2 separate regions of the Homo sapiens genome follow, and region 2 is linked to region 1. The links are contacts of gene promoters, found by promoter capture Hi-C in human tissues and cell types (Jung and others, 2019). All regions are on one chromosome and are shown on one strand. The core of a region is centred on a gene start or on the middle of the fragment in contact, and the rest is flanking DNA. Distances in the headings are between cores, read along the strand shown.

Region 1 (3,526 bases), core at 540-3,039:
CTGTCCGGGCTGCAGATGTCGTAGACGAGCACGAAGGCGTCCGTGTCCTGCAAGCTCCAGTCCTTAGCGTCTGGCCACTCCTGGGGACAGGAGGCCAGGGTTTGCGGAAGCCTCCTTTCCACTCTTCCGCTCTCGAACCCTCTGCAGGGGCCTGGACGCTAATCCTCAGGCCAACATCACCCCCATACAGACCTCTGTGCCCCTCCCCCAAGCTTTCCGGGCCGTCTCCTCATGACCACCAGGGTAAAATTTTCCAAATCGTGCCTGGAGCCTGTCAGCCAGCCTCCTTCATCCTTGGTCTCCCCTCTGTTTACCCCGAATCTTCCTCTTTTCAGCTTTCCCCAACTCGGCTCAGGCCGCTCTCCTCCCTAGATGCTCTCGGTGCTTACCACGGCCTCTAAGACTAATTCCAAAGCCCTTGGCCCGAGTCCCGTGGTCCACCACGCCCCCAGATTGTCAGCTGTAACCGTTTATGACCGTAGCGTAAGCACCTGCTGGTCTTTCCACCTGGTATGTTTTTGCCACTTCCTTTACTCAGAACTTCACTCGGTCTTCCAGGTTCAGCTCAAATGCCACTCCCTCCAGGAAGCCCTGCTTAATCCTGCCTGCTCTTTCCTCTTCACTGCTCTAGGGTCGGAGGTCTGTCCTTTACTTTGCACAAATTACTAAACGAGTCTTCGCTCCAGGGGACAAAAATGATAGGGCAGAGAATGAACCCCTCCACCAGCCCCCGTAGAAAGTACACCCCTGCTCCTGACCCCAGTCTCTCCCATTGTAGCTCTGCTCAAGGCCCCAAACACAAAACGCCACACTCTCGGGAAGGCACCGTTATGCACCACCAAGAGCTGCTCCACACCCCCAGCCGAGGCAGGCAAAGGTGGAGGCGCTCACAGGAGCAAGGGAACGCCCCTGGGCAAAATCGCCCGGCCTCCAGCCTGGGCTTGGGCGTCTCCAGGTCGGCGGGAAGGGCTGAAACGCAAGTATCCCAGGACGCACACACATCCCTCCATCCCGGAGCACAGCCAGGCGCCCGAGGCCTCCACGCGGACACGCACGTGTGCACCGAGCACGCACACCCCTCACACTGTCACACGCCCCTGCCCGCTCCTCGAGCCGCTACCTCCGGACCCCCGGGGCTCGAGCCGGGGCCAGCGACGTCGCCGTCGCGGATGCTCAAGTCGTAGACGGCGCCGTCGAGCAGCACCGCGGGTCGGTAGAGGCGCGGCCCGTCCGTGGGCCGGTGGCGCTCGGGGTAGTCACCGAACAGGAACTGGCGGATGATGGCCGTCTTGCCCACGCCCGGGGCGCCTAGAACGGCCACCCGCAGGCTACCCCCCATGGCCGGCCGGCGCTGTCGCTCCCCGCGCTGGAAAGCCTCATGGGCCGGCGCCGCACCGTGCGCCCCCAGGCCGTGCGCCCCGCGCGCCCTGCCCGGTGCGCCACGGCCCCGTCGCGCTTCTCGTCGCCCCTCGGAGCACCGAGACCGGAGAGGGCAGGCCCGAGGCAGGAGCTGGCGGCGGGAGGGCAGACAGACAGCCGAGTGGGCAGACAGGTGGCGGGCGCGCGAGCGGCTCGGGCGGGTGCCGAAGCTCGAGAGAGAGCAGAGCCGGAGCGGCGCTCAGACACCGCCTCCGCCCCGCAGCGCCAACCCAGGCGCCGGCGGACGCGCGAGGCGCCGAAGTCCGCCCCTCTCGCGGCGCGGGTCCCGCAGCGGTGCGGGGCGCGGGGGGCAGCGCTGCCTCCCGGAGCCTCTGTGCCTCTATCCTTCTCTCGCTTCCGCGCCTGGAGTCGCCGCCCCAGCCGCCGGCGCGAGCGAGCGGGGCCTCCCGGAGGCGGCGATGAGGTAACCGCCCGCCCCTCCCACCTTCCCCCACCGCCCAGGACGCCCCTCCCAGGAAGGGTCGCAGGAAGGTGACTGGGGGACAGAGATCCCGGAGAGGGCCTACCCCTTCCTTACCTCCTCCGCGTGTCCCGCTCCTCTCACCCGCTCCAAAATAGAAGCCCCTTCCCACCCACTGCCGCGGCCGCTCTTCCAAACACTGCTCGCCCCCACGCTGGCTCCCGACAAGCCCCGGCCCCCGGAGTCAGGCCGCCCGGGGTCCGAATTGGGGGGGGCGGCTGTGTGACCTTGGGCGAATCGCCGCACTGCGCTGGGTCTGCGCTCCGCATCCATCACAGGCAGACTCCTCAAGAGGCTCCAACCTTTTCTTGAGAGCCTACTATGTGCCAGGCCCATTACCTACGTGATTCTCGAACCTACAGCCTCAGCCTGGCATCGCTGGTTGAGAGAAGAGGAAACAGGCCCGAGAGGGGAATCTGCAAGGTTAGAAGGGCAGTGGGGGGGCCCTTGAAGTCTCCTTTGAAGTCCCTCCTACCTTCCTCCTGCCCACGGGGGTAAATGGCCCACACTAGACAATATTCAAACAGCCGTCCTCGAGGGGAAGTGGGGACAGAGGGTGCCGAGACCACAGCAGCTTAGCCCCAGATCCCTGTCCCAGCAAGGCTGGAGGTGACTAAATAAAGATCCAGAAATTGGCCCACTCCACCTCCATCACTACTAAGGTCACCTTTCCTGCGTGAGTTGCAACCCGTAGCGCCCCTCAAAGGGATGCAACCTCCAAAACAGGCGCCCAGAGCCCAAGTTCCCCCTCCCTCGAGCTAGTGGAGAAGCTCCTGCCCCATCACAGCTTGGAAAGCCTGGGTTAGCCCAGCCCCCCCATCCTCCGCCTCTGCTCTCCTCCCCGCTGTGTGGGGGCTCCCACGTCTCTGACCTGCACATGGCAATGCTCAAGAAATGGCGGCAATGCTCAAGAAATGGCCGCAATGCACAGATCTCTGCACTGACTAAGGAGTTCATTTATTTATCCCCTCAACAAATATTCCAAATCTTATTGCTTGTCAGGAGGCTGAGATAGATTTAAAAAACAGAAAACAGGAAAAAAAAAAAAAGTTCTGCTTTGGGAGAGAAGGTTCTAGAACACATGGGATCTAGGGACTGTCAAAGCACAGACAATGTGCCCACACCAGCCCAGGGGAAGTAGAGGAGCTAAATCCTGAAGGGGGAGGAGGCACATCCTCCAGGGAGCCTGTATAATGACAACCAGAAAGTGTCTCCAGAACAATGGCTGTGCTTTCATCCTCCCATGCTAGATCGGGGGCTGGGGTCCGCTTTCACTCCTCTCCTCAGCCACTAGGAAGCTCAGAACCACCTCTGTCTAGTGTTCCAGGTCTTCTAGCTCAGTGAGTGGGGACTGCTGGCTTCATCTTTCTTTCCTACCATGATTTTTCCCTTCACTTGATGTCCTCTTTCACGTTGTAACTTTTCAGACTTCTGGGTTTTGTTGTTTGAGACAAGGTCTTGCTCTGTCACCCAAGCTGGAGTGCAGTGGTGTGATCTTAGCTCACTGCATCCTCAACCTCCTGGGTTCAAGTGATCCTCCTTGCCTCAGTCTCTCAAATAGCTGGGACTGCAGGTGTGTACTACGACATCCAGCTGATTTATTTTTATTTTTTGTAGAGGTGGAAT
Region 2 (3,988 bases), core at 1,457-3,956, 370 kb after region 1:
GCGACACGTGTCCTGGCATCTGAGCCTTCCGAGTGAGGGGAGTGAGTCTGGCCATCAGGCTGGGGTTGAGGGACACAGGGTGCCTTGAGCCTGGCTTTCGTGCCTTCAGAGCCACAGTGCCAATGATGGGAGTGGTGGCTTGGTGTGGCGTAACTGTACCACCATACCTTGATGGTAGAATGCAGTCCTGGAATATATACATTCAGGGTCTTTCTTTCATCGCTTCTCAAGAGAGGGGTTTCAGTCTCCCGATCCTGAGCTGGTCTGAGTGCCAGCAAACAAAGTCATCACTTTTGTGCCTGTGGTCTCCCAAGGAGCACAGGATTTCCAAGGAAATTGACGGATGAGAAATCATGGGGGTGGTGGAGCTTAGAAAGCTTATTTCATTAGTAAATGGTTTGAACCGTCAAGGTCCAGCTGTGGTTTCCACTGATGGAGGAACAGGAAGAAGAGGAGCCTTGACATTTATCTCAAGCGCCAGCAGCTTCTCTTGGATCAGGAAGACATAAAAGTCCAATGTCATCTTCAATTTGTGCAGGCTCCCCTTGGAGTTGCAGAGCCAGTGAAGTGAAGTAGAACAGTTAAAAAAACACCCGGGGAAGTGATAAATCACAGAGAGAGATTGCATATGCGGGAAAGGTGTCTCCCACAATTAAAACAAGTGGCCAGAGCCTCCCTGGCGACCTCTGGTCTGCATTGCCAGCCCTGAAGATGGCTCCTAAATTACTTAAGTTTAATAGGTAGTTAATATAGCCAACCCTCCTTATGACCCCAGTGGGCTGAATGGCTCTGCTTGCTTTAGGAACTGGGCGTTGTATGGTAGAGCATCTTGGCCTTGACATAAAAGGTAGCATACTGGCTCCCCAGCCCTGAACCTTCCCTGCTAGAGCAAGGCAGGGGTGAGAGGGGGAAGGAAAGAAAAAGGAGTGGGGAGTGGGGTGGGGAGCAAGGATTAACAGGGAGCAGTAGCAGCACCAGATGTGGGCATAGCACACTGGGAAGAAATTGCAGTGGCGATCTGAACTCTTCCTCTCCGCCTCCTGGCTCTGTGGAAGCCCAGGGAAGGCATTAGGAACTGCAGGCTGCTCTTAGTGCTCCTCCCGGATGGGACACCTTGGGCTCATCCCTGAAGGCCACTCCTACCACTCTCACACACTGAGTTCCTGGTGTCTCGTAACTGTTGAGAGCTTAGTTTTCTTGCTTGTTTCTGGTAGCTCTAGATAGAAGACTGTATCGGCCTCTTCTAAAAGTCAACAAGCCAATCCTGTTTTTGGTTAAGAGACTTTACCTGGTCAAGCAGTTGTTCTTTGGGAGGTGTTGAAGAGCCTACAAACCTGCCTTGCCTGCCTAGGTACTTTACCACCATTTGGAGATGCCTGAGGATATTACCAGGCCTTATTTGAGGCAGTAAAACACCCTGTTCGGCCCCTCGGCACTGAAGATGTGTTTCAGTGCAGCTCTCCTCGGCACCGGATTCGTTGCTGCAACAGTGGGAGGGAAGAGCCAGATGCAAACTCGTTCTGCGAGCCCGAGGTTCTGTTCTCATGATCCTTGCTGTGATTTCTCTTTTGATGTTGGCAATTTTAAAATGACATCAGTCTATCTGGACCTTTTTCCTAAGGCTCTTGCTCAGACCACTCAGTAGATAGCCGCCACCTGCCCAGTGAGGTGAATCAGGCCCATTAGGCCATTTGTCAGGGGAAGGAACAGAGGAGCAGCGGAGGGCCCCGCCGGCCAGTGCCACAGGGCAGCCTGCAAAGCAGGTAGACAGGTTTTCAGGCAGCTTTTGCTGCTTTGGGTCCCTCAGGGATTAATACACAAAAAGGGCCCCTTGGGTATTCAGTGGCAGATTTCTCTTGAGAGCAGATAAAGTCGCTAATAACAAATTGGATTTGTTCATTGGGGTGGACTTGGCCTTTCGTTCCACCTCTGTGTAGGATAAGTGTGTGGATAGTGCTCCCACTGTGCACATCACCATATGGCATTTGGGTGCAGCTGTCCCTAGCCAGACTGCAGAAAAGCTTGATCTGGGCCGGACGCGGTGGCTTATGCCTGTAATCCCAGCACTTTGGGAGGCCGAGGCAGGCGGATCACGAAGTCAAGAGATTGAGACCATCCTGGCCAACATGGTGAAACCCTGTCTCTACTAAAAATACAAAAATTAGCTGGGCGTGGTGGCATGCGCCTGTAGTTCCAGCTACTCAGGAGGCTGAGGCAGGAGAATCACTTAAACCCAGGAGGCAGAGGCTGCAGTGAGCGGAGATCGCGCCACTGCAGTTCAGCCTGGCAACGGAGTGAGACTCCGTCTCAAAAAAAAAAAAAAAAAAAAAAAGAGAAAGTAAAGAAAAGCTTGATCTGGCCACTTAGTACAGCCATCCCCCTTTACTGGCCCTTCCTCTTTGCTTATTTGGAAGGGGGAAGGTTTCCCACACCCCAAACCAAAGATTCTTTTGGAATTTGCTGCTGCTGGATTCAGCTGTCACCTTTCTGCTCTGAGTCTGCTTTCTCCCTGTGGATCCGGTGCCAGAGGATCTGCACGTCCTTTTGTGTCTACACCCTCCCCCGCTCCTTCGTTTTCAATATGTAGTAGTGGAGAGGAAGTGTAACATGATTTTAGGGCTCACATTTCAATTCCACTGCATTTTTATGGGACAAGCAGAGACCCAGCGCCTGGAGTTATTAGGTTAGTATCTAAAATGGGTTCAGTACTGTGAGTCTTATTGTTTAAAATGAATGAGATGGTCCCCTCCTACCTTCTTTTCTCCTCCCCTGGGATGAGTGGATTGAGGCAAGGCCCCCAGAGACTAGTTGAAGGAATCCTGGTGCTCTGATTAGTTTTGTTCCCCAGCTTAATTGTACAGCTTCCTTTCTCTCACCACTGATAGCCAAAGTAGCTCTGTGTCTCCCCCAACCTTCCCTTGCTTTAGGAACAAGATGATCACAATGCAGCCTTGTGAATCAATTTTCTGTCTGTGCTGATGAAAGTGTAATTCATTCTTAATCAAGCAGCCTTGCTGCTGCAGGCTCCGTGCCGGAATACATTTAGTTACCCTCCCATCACTTTGGGAAACGATCCCCCAAAAGGGCTTTTAGAGGAGAGCTGGAAGGAGAGTTGGCCGTGCGCCTCATGCTGTGGTTTTCCAGCAGGGGGCACTCAGGAACGATGCTGGCGGAGGCTTTGTAGCTGGAAGCCGTCTGCTGCTGGCAGGGCAGCAGGAGAATGTTTGTCACAGGTGCCTTCCAGGCTTGCTTTCTCCAGACCCTGGGGCCATTTCTCAGAAGTACCCTAATGGGCCACCCAAAATCCTCAGGTAGCAGTGAGGAGGAACAGTTGAAGATGCAGATTGCATGCCTGGGTTAGAGAGTGCCGGCTGGGTACCAGGTTCTTTTAGCCAGCCTCTTCTGTCTTTTTAAGTAGACAGATGTGTCTCCTGAATCTGAACTTGTTTAGATTGGGTGGATGTGTCTGTTTTTGTCACACCACACACAATTTGGGGAGCGTAAGGAGGCCCAGCTCTGCCAGAATGGAACTCTCCTAAGTTCTCCCCTGCCGTCTCACAGCCTGCTGGCTGTCACAAACAGCTGGCAGTTTTATGGACAAGTGGGCAGGGGAAAAGGGACCCTGCCGGGGCTGAGTCTCGATGTTGGGCAGGAAGTAAAAGCCAGGACCCAACAAGTGGATCAGAGGGGGGATGTGAAGATGAACAGTCAGATAGCAATAAAGCCTCATAGATCTGCCCCAGAGAAAGAAAAGGAAGTTCGTCTCCTCAGAATGGAATTGGATTAGTGACAGACTTGAGCAGCCGGTTCAGTCGAGAGAGAACTTAATTCCTCCTGTGTTATTCACACGGCTGATTCTAATCAGATGTGAAGAGACAGCTGGAGGAGAGCAGCGGGTCAGCCCATGCCTGGTGCGGAGGCTTCATGTTCTTGTAGGCATCTTCAGGGAACTGGCAGGAGCGCTTTGGGTTGGAGACTCTGAGCAGGG

The links. Contacts are between HindIII fragments. The study calls those that stand out against the background at their distance.
Region 2: a fragment that was not itself captured here is called in contact with the fragment with the promoter of RASL10A in region 1 in 2 of the 25 tissues and cell types used here (spleen and thymus).

Annotation. Positions count from the first base shown.
Region 1 is chr22:29,313,908-29,317,433 of GRCh38, forward strand. It overlaps RASL10A (RAS like family 10 member A), which reads right to left and starts at 1,790. Exons shown (of 3, transcript NM_006477.5): 1 at 1,121-1,790; 2 at 1-80. The coding sequence starts at 1,339. RefSeq lists enhancers at 177-981, 982-1,786. The HindIII fragment of the contact is 15,140 bases long and covers 1-3,526 here.
Region 2 is chr22:29,686,869-29,690,856 of GRCh38, forward strand. All of the region lies in intron 15 of NF2 (NF2, moesin-ezrin-radixin like (MERLIN) tumor suppressor), which reads left to right. Among named protein-coding and RNA genes, the nearest start is that of CABP7-DT, 31 kb to the right of the region's middle. RefSeq lists enhancers at 1,356-1,857, 1,858-2,357, 2,577-3,077 and a silencer at 2,930-3,161. The HindIII fragment of the contact is 6,822 bases long and covers 1-3,988 here.